Regions from separate parts of the Homo sapiens genome. Here region 2 is linked to region 1. Evidence: promoter capture Hi-C in human tissues and cell types (Jung and others, 2019). All regions are on one chromosome and are shown on one strand. The core of a region is centred on a gene start or on the middle of the fragment in contact, and the rest is flanking DNA. Distances in the headings are between cores, read along the strand shown.

Region 1 (6,252 bases), core at 411-2,910:
CTACTCATTTGTCAAAAACAATAAAACTGTACACCATAAAGGGTGAATGTTACTGTATGTAAATTATATTTCAATTTAAAAAAACTCAGTCTGACAGTTTGCATATTTTTAATTTTACTGACAACTTATGGAAAAGAAACATCTCTCTGCTTGCAACCTGTCAAGAAATACTTAACACCATGCTATGTTCTTTGCAGGCTTTTTTCTTTTTTTGTGAGACATATTCCCTGCCTGACAGAGGAGCTCATTAGGGAAACAAGTCTAAATATTAAAATAAGTTACAGAAAAAGGCCAGGCAAAAATAAATTAATTGAGTGATAAATCACAGAATACATTTTATATGTGTGGGAAATGAATGGCACATAATCTTGGAAAGGTCTTAGTGCTTCTCAACATTGCTGATCTTATATTATCTCTAACTTTCAAGTGAGGATGTTGAGACTTGGAGAGGACAAGTACTTTTTCCGTGATTCCCGAGCTATCAGGTGTCAAAGCTGAGATTCTAACCCACGCCTCTTCGCCCAAAACCTGACATTTTCTGCATGCGGCGATGGAACAACACAGAAGAGGTTACGACGGCGGCTACACAGTGTGATTTCAATGGACAGCAACGCCTCCTTACTCCCCAAACAACCCGCTCAACTACTTGGCACGAATCCTACACAGTAACACCATGATTATTGCCACGTTTCTTAAATTGAGCTCAACGGGGTCTTGGAATGTCAACTCCCGAGAAAGGAATCAGCGAGCCTTGTGGGGATATGGACCTACTTCTGACAAGTCTTGGTAGTAAGGAAGGCGCATGGGGCCAGCGCCGGAGCCAGGGTGCCACCGAAAAGGGTAAACACCAAGAAAGAAGACAGCCGAGGCGCTGAAGATACTCCTCTTCAATTACACCACTCAGCTCTGGGTCACAAGGCGGGGAACAGCGTACGAAAAACCCCTCCCCTGGCCCTTCTAGCCCCTTTGGTGAAAGATTTCCGTGGACTTTTCCCTGCCTCCGTCGCCAGTCCAGGGCTAAAACTGAGGCTCCTCTACAGGCGTGGCTGGGAGGAAAGTGGTGGTGCGCCTTAACAGCGCAAGCAGCCCGGGGCACGCCGGGGGAAGGCGCTGGGTAGTAGGGACCGCGGACGCACGAGGCCGGGCCAAGGCGCCCAGAGCCGGGCCGGGTAGGGCTCCGATGCCAGAGTGAAGGGGTCGACAGGGGAGAACGAACTCGGGAAATTCTCTCCGGTGACACCCTAAGTGTCGCATGATGCGTTAGTTGACTAGGGGCTCTCACTTTTCCCTCCTTTACTGACCTCGCAATCACTGACCACGCAATCGCTGCCCACGCCGCCACCTCACCTCTCCAGTTCTTGTACTGCGGGATGTAGTAGTATTTGTTCCCGAATTGGTCCGTGCCCACGTGCTCCTTCACTTCCCTTGACAGCGATCTCCACAAGGCGCGGAACAAATCCTGAGACCAACCCATGCCGTCCACCCAGTTTCCAGCGCTGCCAGCAGCGGGACCCGCAGTAGGGGTAATGCTCCAGCCGCCGACCCAGCCCACCGAGGCGGAGAAGTCAGGTCGGCCTCCATCCTGGAGCCCTTCTAGTAACGGCGCTCACCATTGGCCGGATATATCACCGACTGACCAATGGGAGACTCTGCTGTTCCAGTCCCGCCCCTGAGCTCTGTCATGGCGACGTCCAGTGCTCCAGCCGGTGTGAGGACACGATATGCTGGGGTTTTTGTCCGCACGCCAAACGGGTTTGGAGGACCCTCTTCGCCTTCGGAGAGCAGAGTCAACACGGAGGTAAAGAAAACCTTACTTTTTGGCTAACAGGCCAGTTAGAATCTGGACCAATGACTGTAAGCTTTGCCCCACACTTTCCCGTCTCATCGCTCTCCTGCCACCAAACTATTATTTGCCCTCTAATGCTGTGTGGCTTGCTAAAATAGGATCCCTTTTATTTACTGGTAACAACTTGCAGGCGGGGGGCGGCGGGGGTGGGGGGGGTTCCCCGGGGGTGGGGGGGGGGTTCCCCCGCGGGCTCAGGTGAAGACACTATAAACCTAAATAAGAATACTTCGTTGTACTGTATTCCTTCTCTCTTAAGTTACTCCAAAGAATAACTGCCCTCCACGGACTCGTTCATTCATTCAGTCTGCATATTTAGTGAATTCCTACAGTGTGCCAGGCAGCCTATTAAAGGCAGAGGACACAGGCCAGGAATTGAACAAAGTTCAGAATGACTAGAGCGGAGAATTGGGGTAGGGACCATTGACAAGAGATGAAGTAGACAGAAACTAGATGAGGAAGAGCCTTGTGTACTTGAGTAGAGGTGTGAAGATGAGAATAAGGTAACAGCTATTGCATTTTGTTTTCTGCTTGGAGAATGGGTTGCAACTGAGAACAAGAGTGGGAGCCAAGTTAGGTAACTGTTGTGATTACACTTGTCCGGGAGAGAGTTGTTGGAAGCCTGGGCCACAGAGTTGCCAAGTAGAATAAAGATAGTGGAGAGATTTGAACAACGTCTGAGAAATAGAATCAACAGGCCATGGAAATTGAGTGGATACGTGAATGACAAAAAGAGAAGAATGAATAATGATTCCCAGATCTATGCCTTGTATAAGAAGTTGAATGTTGGTAATATACTCTGAGAGAGGGTTTTCCAAAGGGAAGAAGCAAGTTGTACTTTTAATTTTGCCCACATTAATTGAGGAACCTGTGAAGATATTTACTTGGAGAACACAGTTGCTTATGAGTTCTGCGTTCTGGAGAAATTTAAATATTAGTTTCCAACATTTTATCCATTACGTTTTCAATGTTGTGAAATATCTCTGAGAGTTCCTTTAATGTGTTTTTTTTGCCAGTGTCACTTCCTCTGACACATCATCAGCCTTTCATCACAATCACTTTTCCTCATTTATGTCTATAAGTTCACCTTCACTGATTTCCTCAGTCTGCATATCTAGAATGTCTCAAATGGCGGCAGTGTCATTGTTGCCACAATCAGCATGTTCCCACAGGCAGCTTTTTTTTCATTTGCTCCATTTATGTTTAATGCAAGTTTCACTTCTAGTATTATCACTCTTCTTTAGTGCACTTTCATTCTTTTGGCCAATTTCCTCTTTTAATCTGTAAAATTCCATGTGGGTTTATCTCAAGGGCACAGAAATATTAATAACAAACCTCCATGCTTTGCAGCCTGTGTGTGAACTGAATAACAGATGCACAGTGACCAATCACCCATAGACTTTGAAAGAAGTAAAATTGCAAATTGGTCAATTTTGATTCATATGTTATTTATGTAATGATTTGTGAACTGAAAAGCTAGTAGCAAACTTTTATGCTATTTCTCACGGTTAATAAACTGTGGTAACTGAAATTCATATCAGACTGTGCCAAGTGAGGATTGCTTATACGTTTAAGACAAATAAAGTATTTAAAAATTAAAAAAATATTTTTTTTTTGAGGCAGGGTCTTGCTCTGTCACCCAGGCTGGAATGCAGTGGTGCAGTTACAGCTCACTGCAGCCTCGACTTTCCAGGCTCAAATGATCCTCCCATCTCATCCTCCTAAGTAGCTGGGACCACAGACATGTGCCCACACACCTAGCTAATTTTTAAATTTTTCGTAGAGATGGGGTCTCCCTATGTTTCCCATTCTGGTCTTGAACTCCTGGGCTGAAGTGATCCTCCTGCCTTTGCCTCCTAAAGTGCCGGGATTATATGTGCGAGCTACCACACAGCCTAAAATTTTTTTAAAAATATTTCCATCATTAAGTGATGTTTTTGCTTAAACAATTATATAGTTCCATTTTATTCATAGGAGATGTCTACTGTTCTTCCTTGTCATCATGTAAGAGCAAAAGGATGAACACTGATATGCAGTGTTCACAGTTTACACCCTCTAAAAAAACATTTTACAACTTTATTGAGGTATAATTGACATGCAATACCCTGCACATTAAATGAGAATATACAATTTGATGAATTTTGACATATATTTACTTTTGAAACCATTACCATAATCAAGAGAACATCCATAACCCTAAAAAATTTTTGACGGTCATTTATAATCCCTGTCTCCCTTCTTTCTCTGCTTTACCCTCTTCCTTCTCTAGAAACTACTAATCTGCTTTAGGTCACTATAGATTAGTTTGCATATCTAGTATTTTATATAAATGGAATCTTTTTTGTCTGGCTTCTTTCACTCAGCATAATTACATTATTTTGAAATTTCTCCATGTTATTGCATGTATCAATTCCTTTTTTTTGCTGTGGAGTATCCCACTGTGCAGATATACCACAGTTTATCTAGTCACTTGTCGATGGACATCTGAGTTGTTTCCAGTTCAGGACTAATACATTTACAGCTGCTCTGAAAATTCATGTATGAGTCATTGTATGAACATATGCTTTTATTTCTCTGAAGTTAATGCATAACAGTGGAGCTACTAGATAAATCCTTTACTTTTTAAGAAACTGACAGTTTTCCAAAAGCATTTTCCAGTCCCACCACTAATAGGTGAGAGTGCTAGCTGCTCCATATTTATGTTTCCCCTTTCCTGCTTTCATTTGACTGTTTGAACATTATTTAGTATTCTATTTTATATACTATGGTTTTGACTATATCTTTTTGTATAATTCTTTAGTGGCTGCTCTAGGAATTATAAAATACTTACTTTTCGTTGTCTACTTCGGATCATTTCATTGTTTTACTGCTTCATTTGGCATATAGAAACCTTATCACCCTTTCCCCTGCACCATATATATATTGTTGTCTTATATTTTATATTTACATACATTATATACTCTATCAGACATTATAATTTTTTCCAACCATCAATCATATTTTAAGGAAAAAAGTAGCCATTATATTTAACCAGATAGTTATTTCTGTTGCTGTCTCTTTATTCCTGATGCCTCAAATTTCCTTCTTATATCTTTTTCTTGTCTCTGAAGAATATAGTTTATCAATTTTTTTAGAGTAGGTCTAATGGTTTCTGAAAAGGAATCTGCAGCCATTCAAATCATTGTTTTCCTATAGGTAATTTATCATTTTTCTCTGGTTGCTTTGAAGACTTCGTCTTTAGTTTTCAGCAGTTTAATTATGATGTGTCTGGTTGCAGATCTCTTTGGATTTATCCTAGTTAGGGTTCATTCTGCTTCTTGAACTTGTAGACTTATATCTTTCCATAAACTTGGGAACTTTCCAGCCATTTTTTCCAATGTTTTTTCAACACTACACTCTTTCTCTTCTCCTTCTAGACCTCCAATGACAAAAATGTTAGTCCTTTTATAATTGTTCCTCTGATCCCTAAGGCTTTGTTCTTTTTCCCTTCGATCTTTTTTCCTCTATATTGTTAGATTGTATAATTTTAATGGATCTATCTTCAAGTTCACAGATTTTTTCCTCTGCCATCTCCAATCTGTTAGTGAATACATTAAGTTAAAATAATTTTATATTGAAAACTAAAATTTCCATTTGGCTTTTATTTATGTCTTCTATTTCTTTGCTGAGACTTTCTGTTTTAACATCTGTTTCAAGTGTGTGCACAATGGCTTACTCAAGCTTTTTTTTTATTTTTAGAGATGAGGCCTCACTGTTTTGCCCAGGCTGGTCCTGAACTCCTAGGCTGAAGCAGTCCCCCTGCCTCAGCTTCACAAGAGTCACTGGGATTACAGGCTCGGGCCACCATGCCAGTGTTGCTCAAGTTCAAGCATTTTACAATGGTTGCCTTGAAGTCTTTATCAGATAATCTCAACACTTGTGTCATCTCAGCTTTGGCTTGTTTTGTTTGTCTTTTCCCATGCAAGTTGAAATTTTCACGGTTCTTTATATGCAGGGAAATTTTGGATTTGCATCCTGGACATTTTGAATACTCTGGGTCTTGTTTTGATCCTATGAAGAATGTTGATATTTTTGTTTTAACATTTAATTAGCAAGATTAGGTTCAGGCTACAAGAACCTACCTACTTATGGACTGTAGTTTTAATGTTAGCTCAGTTTTCAAAGTCTCTTCAGATCTTCCCCAGGTGTATGCCATTCAATGGTCAGACTGTGACCTGAGTGATTAGCTCAATTTTCAAAATCCTTTGTATACGACTCAGGGTTAGATCTATGCATGCCTCACTCAGGGATGAGTTCTGGAGTTTATAAACAACTTTATGGGATCACTTTCCTGAGCTCCTTCTTCTCTGTGATCTCCTGGATGCTTCCCAGTTCTCTGGGACTCCCTGTTTTGGCCATCTAGCCAGAAA
Region 2 (5,979 bases), core at 2,067-4,566, 410 kb before region 1:
TTCAAGATCCTTTCAAGGGCTTAAAAGGTTCAAGACATTATTTCTAACTTTAAAATTCTACAAGCTGCATTTTCCTTGTTACAGGGCTATCACTGTAGTAACTTTTATCAGCCATGTATAATCACAATTGAAACAAAAAGAACAGGAAAAAGAGAACACTGGAAAAGTAAAGGGGGCAAGGAAATAACTAGAGGCAAAGAAGACATACAAAATGGTGGAACTTAGTTTTAAGCAATAAATGAGAGGAGAGATAAGAAAAACCATCCAGGGATGTTCCAGGAAAGTTGTCAAAAATTGAGGAGGCAACTTTCCCACGTCTGCCATAAGATGGCGCTAACAACCAAGGACAGCTTGGTAACTCATCAACTAGGAAGAGTAGGGCTAAAACAGGTCCTGGAGTAAACAGGAAATTTTTTTTTTAATCCTTCAAAGGTGTAAGGTAAGGTTTCCAAATTTACAGACACTTGTGAAAACATTTCCCTAGCCAACAGAGAAATTATAAAAGGATGGTTTAGTTTTCATAAAGCTATGATTATTCCATTAAGAAGACTGTCTTCTATTCTGAGATTATTTTTTAATTATATTAGAATGTTTTGTTTTAAACTGTAATTACTACATGAGCCAGTTCTGGGTGTGTTTACCCACAGATACACTCTGAGAGCTCTATATCTCAAGTGAGCTGATCACTGCCAGACCCCATTTCTCAGGCTACTAGATCAGCTGGCTTTTCTCTGGGTTCAGTCTACAAGAGGCACTGGTGCAAAACTGGAAGGTGAGAAGGAAGGATTCACAACATTTCTCCCACTCCTTCCATCTCTTCTTTAGGTAGTGTTTCCAGCAATGGCTGCATTGCTTCCATGGCTCCAGCTCCTACTTGCCCCTACCAGGAGGTTTCAGTCTCCTGAGGTGAACCCTGGCTCCTAAATTCCCATAGCCTAACCCTAGTGACTGTATTATCTTTGTGTATTATTTTCGTGCTGCTTTAAAAGCCCTCATCATTCAATCTACCTTGCTGTTTCAGCTGCATAACCTGAATAACCAATACCCTGCACTGAATTCCTGTTTCAAAAACTTAAGGGTAGTTTCTCTTTTCCTGGGTGGACCCTGACCACTACATTAGGCCAGTGGTTCTGTGCGTATCAGAATCACCTGGAATGCTTATTAAAACCCAGATGCTAGGCCCCATCTCCAGAGTTTCCCAGTCAGTATGTCTATGTGAAGCCCAAGAATGTGTATCTCTAACAAATTAAGAGGTGATGATGATGCTATTGAACCGGAGACTACATTTTGAAAAATACTACAAAAAACAAAGAATTGACCATCTTACGTTGGTCTGTTTCTCCTCCTTTTTATAAACTGGATAGTAAAATCCAAGAAACACTGAAACTCAAGAAAACCCATACTTCTTCTGTCTTTACACTATATACATATTATATATATTACATAATTATATATAAAATATATATTTTTTATTTATCAATTATATATTTATATTATATATAAAATATTTATATATATATTATACATATTATATATAATATATATATATAATATATATTATATATTATGTTATATATATTATATATATAAAATATGTATATTATATATTATGTTATATATATTATATATATATCAAACCTGTAAGACAGCTTATTACTATAAAAGCCAACGTTTTTAAGGAATGAGGGTTTTCTCTTTTTTAATTTTCACAGCCAAGTCCAAAGGAATGATTTTTTAAAGTAAATATATTAGGTTGGTGCAAAAGTAATTGCAGTTTTTGCCCTTACTTTCAATAATTTCATTAATAGCATTCATTGTATTTTACCAGAAATAAAATCCCAAATATCATAACCAACCCACTGAACTTCTACGAAAATAAAATGAATTCTAACTCATTGTAAATAACTCAGCCAATGAAGTCTGAAACCTACAAAATAATCAATTGGCAGATGGTTCTTCTGCCTTAAAATTTAAGATAAAAAACAGTCTCAAATAATGTGAAGGGCAACTTAAAAAAAGTGTTTGAAGCTGGGCATGGTGGCGTGCACCTGTAGTCCCAGCTATTTGGGAGGCTGAGGCAGGAAGATCACTTGAACCCGAGTTCGGGGCTGCAGTGAGCTATGATTCTGACACTGCACTCCAGCTTGGACAACAGAGCAAGGCTCCATCTCTGCCGAAACACACACACAGACACACACACACAGTGTTTTGAAACTAAGGTTTAAGAATCACTACAGTGTTTAGATTTATGCTGGCAAAAAGTTAAAATCAAGTATGTAATCAAATCATAACTGAATTGTATACATAAACAGAAAGAACTTATTATGAGACCAAAGGGCCTAGAGACTAGCACTAATTAAAAAATAATGAAGCCACTATGTAATTTTAAATTTCCTAGTAGTCACATTTTAAAAATTAAAATAAACAGGCTAAATTAATTCTAATAATACTTTTAACACAAATATTATCATTTCAATAAATTGTTCATAATGTTTTACATTCTTTTTATTGCACTAAGTCTTCAAACTCTGGTGCATGTGTTACACTTTCAGTAATCTCAATTCCAGCCTGCCACATGGCTACCACATCAGACAGCAAAATTATAGATGAATTAAAATTTGCCAGTCTCTTTACTGAACAGATTGATATTTAGCATAATGGTAGCAATCTACTATCCTTTTCTACAAATTACTTGTAAATTATATTTTTTAAAAGTTTAAAGCTTTAAATGTATTGTTCTCTAACACTTAGTTACAAAACTAAGTTAACATTCTGGCTCCTGCCATCTAATAGTGTGTGTGTGTGTGTGTGTGTGTGTGTGTGTGTGTGTGTGTGTGTGTGTGTGTGTGTGTGTGTGTTTTAAAGTCTCTCAAGAGATTCGCACTGTAAACAGGTAAGCTACATCACTTAGCTACATCAATACCATCACTGCTATTTATTTTTCTAGTCTGAAAGCCGGGGGCATCTCAACTTGACTTTCTCTAGCCCAAAGGAACACCCAGGAGCCACTGTAGGCCTCCACTGGCACCCAGAATAAGGAATTCTCATCTCCTGGGCTTGAGAACAGAAAACTAAGTCACAACTACCAAGCTAAATACCCAAGCTGACGTATCTGGTCCTTTGACAAGGGAAACTGATATAACCCCATCACTAATTCAACAGCAGCAGTTACTCAGTGGGGCTAGTAGAATTGTGATAAACAAAAAATATCAGTCACATTTTTAATGTGATTAAAATAATACTTTAATACTGAATTAAAAACAGGACAAATCAGCTTGAGATACCTTTAATTACTCATGATCTGTAAAATGAGACCAGATTATAAAATTAAAAATCTAAATAGACTACAAAATAGCTCTTACTTTCAGTAGAAAGTAAAATAAAGTACAACATATATTGCCTTAATACAGTTGATGATCAAAATGCAGTCTAAGAATGGAATATATAATAAGTCACTGAATACAGAGGCAGACTATAAGTCATAAAATGGTGCTTTGAGAAACTCCCTCAACTGTCCTTAATATTCAAAATCCAGGGTATGATAATGGTTTACTCTAGAATCAAGTGATGTATGAATTTAAATTAGACCCTAAAGAAATGCAGGGGGATTGAAATGGAGCCTCTAATACCAAACAACTTATGAACCCCTCAAAAATAATGGACTGTTCCTTCGCTTACCAGAAAGTGAGTTTTCTTTTGCACATAAAACTCTTGCCATAAGCAAAAATGTACTTGTGTGTCTATGCAAGAGTAGTGTGATAATTACATACTTTTGGGGCTTAAATACATCTCGTGTCACGTCACACCTAAGGCATACAGTTATTTCATTTTGAACCATTCACTCCAGAGAGTAATTATTCATCCTATAACTTGGTCATAAAATGCAGAGCTTACTCAGTATTTCAGCAATTGTACAGCATAGGTGGATTTTTACATGGTACTTCTATAAATCAGATAACCAAAACATGTACCTTAATAAGTTAAAGTGCTAAAATTATGGTGAGTTATATAGACTTCCTAAGCTTTTAACTTGTGCCCAGTCTACACAGAAAGCTGCAAATGCTACAGGTAGATCCAACTATGGAATAAAGTTGAACACGCAGGCAGTTAATCTGAGCAGGGATAAGTACGATGGCAGCAGGAATGAGGTCACAAGAAGGCATGAAGACATTCAAAAGACCATTCCTGGATGCTGCCTGGAAAGATAACCTTTCCTCATCAGCAAACAGAAGAGTTTCCTAAAACAAAGCGGGGAAAGCACATTTTAAGGCTTGCTCTAAGAGTTAGGTCTTTAAGCTATAATTCGGTAGTAAGAGAATGTCTACAGCATCTGCTGAATCTATCTACAGGGCTGCCAACACAATCCACAAGAACTCGAAGTTGTGCCTTCCAGTAACTGAGGTGTGTGCACCTCTACTGCCTCACACAGCTTGTTATACTCATCTGTTTCTGAAGGATGTCCTACACACATTGCCCCAGTCTCCCACTAAAAATCGAGAAAATGGTAATTGTTTCAAGTCAAAGTATTTATGTCACTAAATGTTGTGACTGAAATTATTTGTAAATGTCCAACAAAGAAAAAGTCACCCTCAACTGAGTGTAGTATCAGCTCCAAGGAACAAGAAGGTACTATATCGTGAATGGGTTACACATCCATTACTACTTATCAAAGAGAAAAAAATAAAACATAATACATTCAGAAGTAGTGAAACACTGCTCAGAGGTCAGGCCACTATATTTGAATGGTATCACAGACCAAGGAGGACTGTGAATGACACATGTGCAAAAAGACAAGCTGCCTCTAGCAACACTTGGAAAACAAAGTACAACATGATCCCACTTGAGAGCTGGGAGGCCTAGGTGTTCAAGTCCAGCACAGACTTCCCAGATGCTCCTGACAAGTGACTTAACATATCTGTTTCCTCAGCCTTAGAATGAGAATACCTTCTCCTCAAAGTTGTTATGAGAGCTAGAAATCATGCTTGTAAAGCACAGAACTGGTACTACCCAAAAGGTGGTCAATATGTTGAGCTGCAACAATATAAAATGGCAAATAAATGTGTTTCAAATGAGAGCTCATCCCAATCCTCATCCCAAACAAGACACTGAAAAATTTCAGGTTTCTCCAAGACCACTTTGAGACAGAAATGACTTTCATGTGGCAGATCATTCTACCCTGCTACTTATGTTAACTTGAGGAAGCAAAGATTAAAAACAAACTGAAAAAAAGCTCAAGCATAAGCAAGAATGCACAGATCAACAGACGGGGAAAAAAAAGTTCAGGCAGACTTGCTATGGCCCACAGTGACCTGCACATGAGCTCCAAGGTCAGTGCCTTGCCCCCATGACCAAACACAGTTGCTCATCCAAGAGAACTGACAAGACAGGAAAGAAGAGAACTGACCTATGCATGTGAGCAAAAGAAAGTCTCGTGCTCTAACTACACACCTACCACCATCTTGCAATCTTTGGCTGCAAACAGGACTGTTTGGTTTTTCCCTGTAATACATGCCAAACAGAATGTATTAGAGACTATGTCATATAAATCCACATTCTAAGACAACTGACCTTGATAAAGTACTTACTGTAATTAAAATAGCATACCGTTTCTTAAACTCAGATTCTAAGAAAGTGCCTCTAACCATAAAGGTGAATGCAAGTGTACCTTTGGAAAATCTGGGAGTGGCCCAAAGTAGCCAAACACACAAAACTAGGCTGTATTTTTCAAACTGGCATATTCTTTGTGTGATGGGTGTGAAGCAATAGATAGATGGAACCACTGAATAAAAGCAATGCCTCCTCCTGGAGAGTTATGAAAATATTCCCAAAGTAAAACACCACTTCCTTCATCCATTTATTCAACAAACTTTTATTGAGAGACAACTATGTGCAAATGGTTATACTGATAGCCATGGATACAAACAGATGTACATATACATATTCACACACATATTTACAGTTTCTGCTCTCCTGGAGCCT

What was found. The method cuts DNA at HindIII sites, captures the fragments that hold promoters and counts their contacts. A contact is called where the count stands out against the background at its distance.
Region 2: a fragment that was not itself captured here is called in contact with the fragment with the promoter of ERCC8 in region 1 in 1 of the 25 tissues and cell types used here (dorsolateral prefrontal cortex).

Annotation. Positions count from the first base shown.
Region 1 is chr5:60,940,478-60,946,729 of GRCh38, reverse strand. It overlaps ERCC8 (ERCC excision repair 8, CSA ubiquitin ligase complex subunit), which reads left to right and starts at 1,660. Exons shown (of 12, transcript NM_000082.4): 1 at 1,660-1,798. The coding sequence starts at 1,722. It overlaps NDUFAF2 (NADH:ubiquinone oxidoreductase complex assembly factor 2), which reads right to left and starts at 1,525. Exons shown (of 4, transcript NM_174889.5): 1 at 1,348-1,525. The coding sequence starts at 1,474. RefSeq lists an enhancer at 760-889. The HindIII fragment of the contact is 9,089 bases long and covers 1-3,711 here.
Region 2 is chr5:61,352,311-61,358,289 of GRCh38, reverse strand. All of the region lies in intron 1 of ZSWIM6 (zinc finger SWIM-type containing 6), which reads right to left. Among named protein-coding and RNA genes, the nearest start is that of ZSWIM6, 23 kb to the right of the region's middle. The HindIII fragment of the contact is 6,044 bases long and covers 295-5,979 here.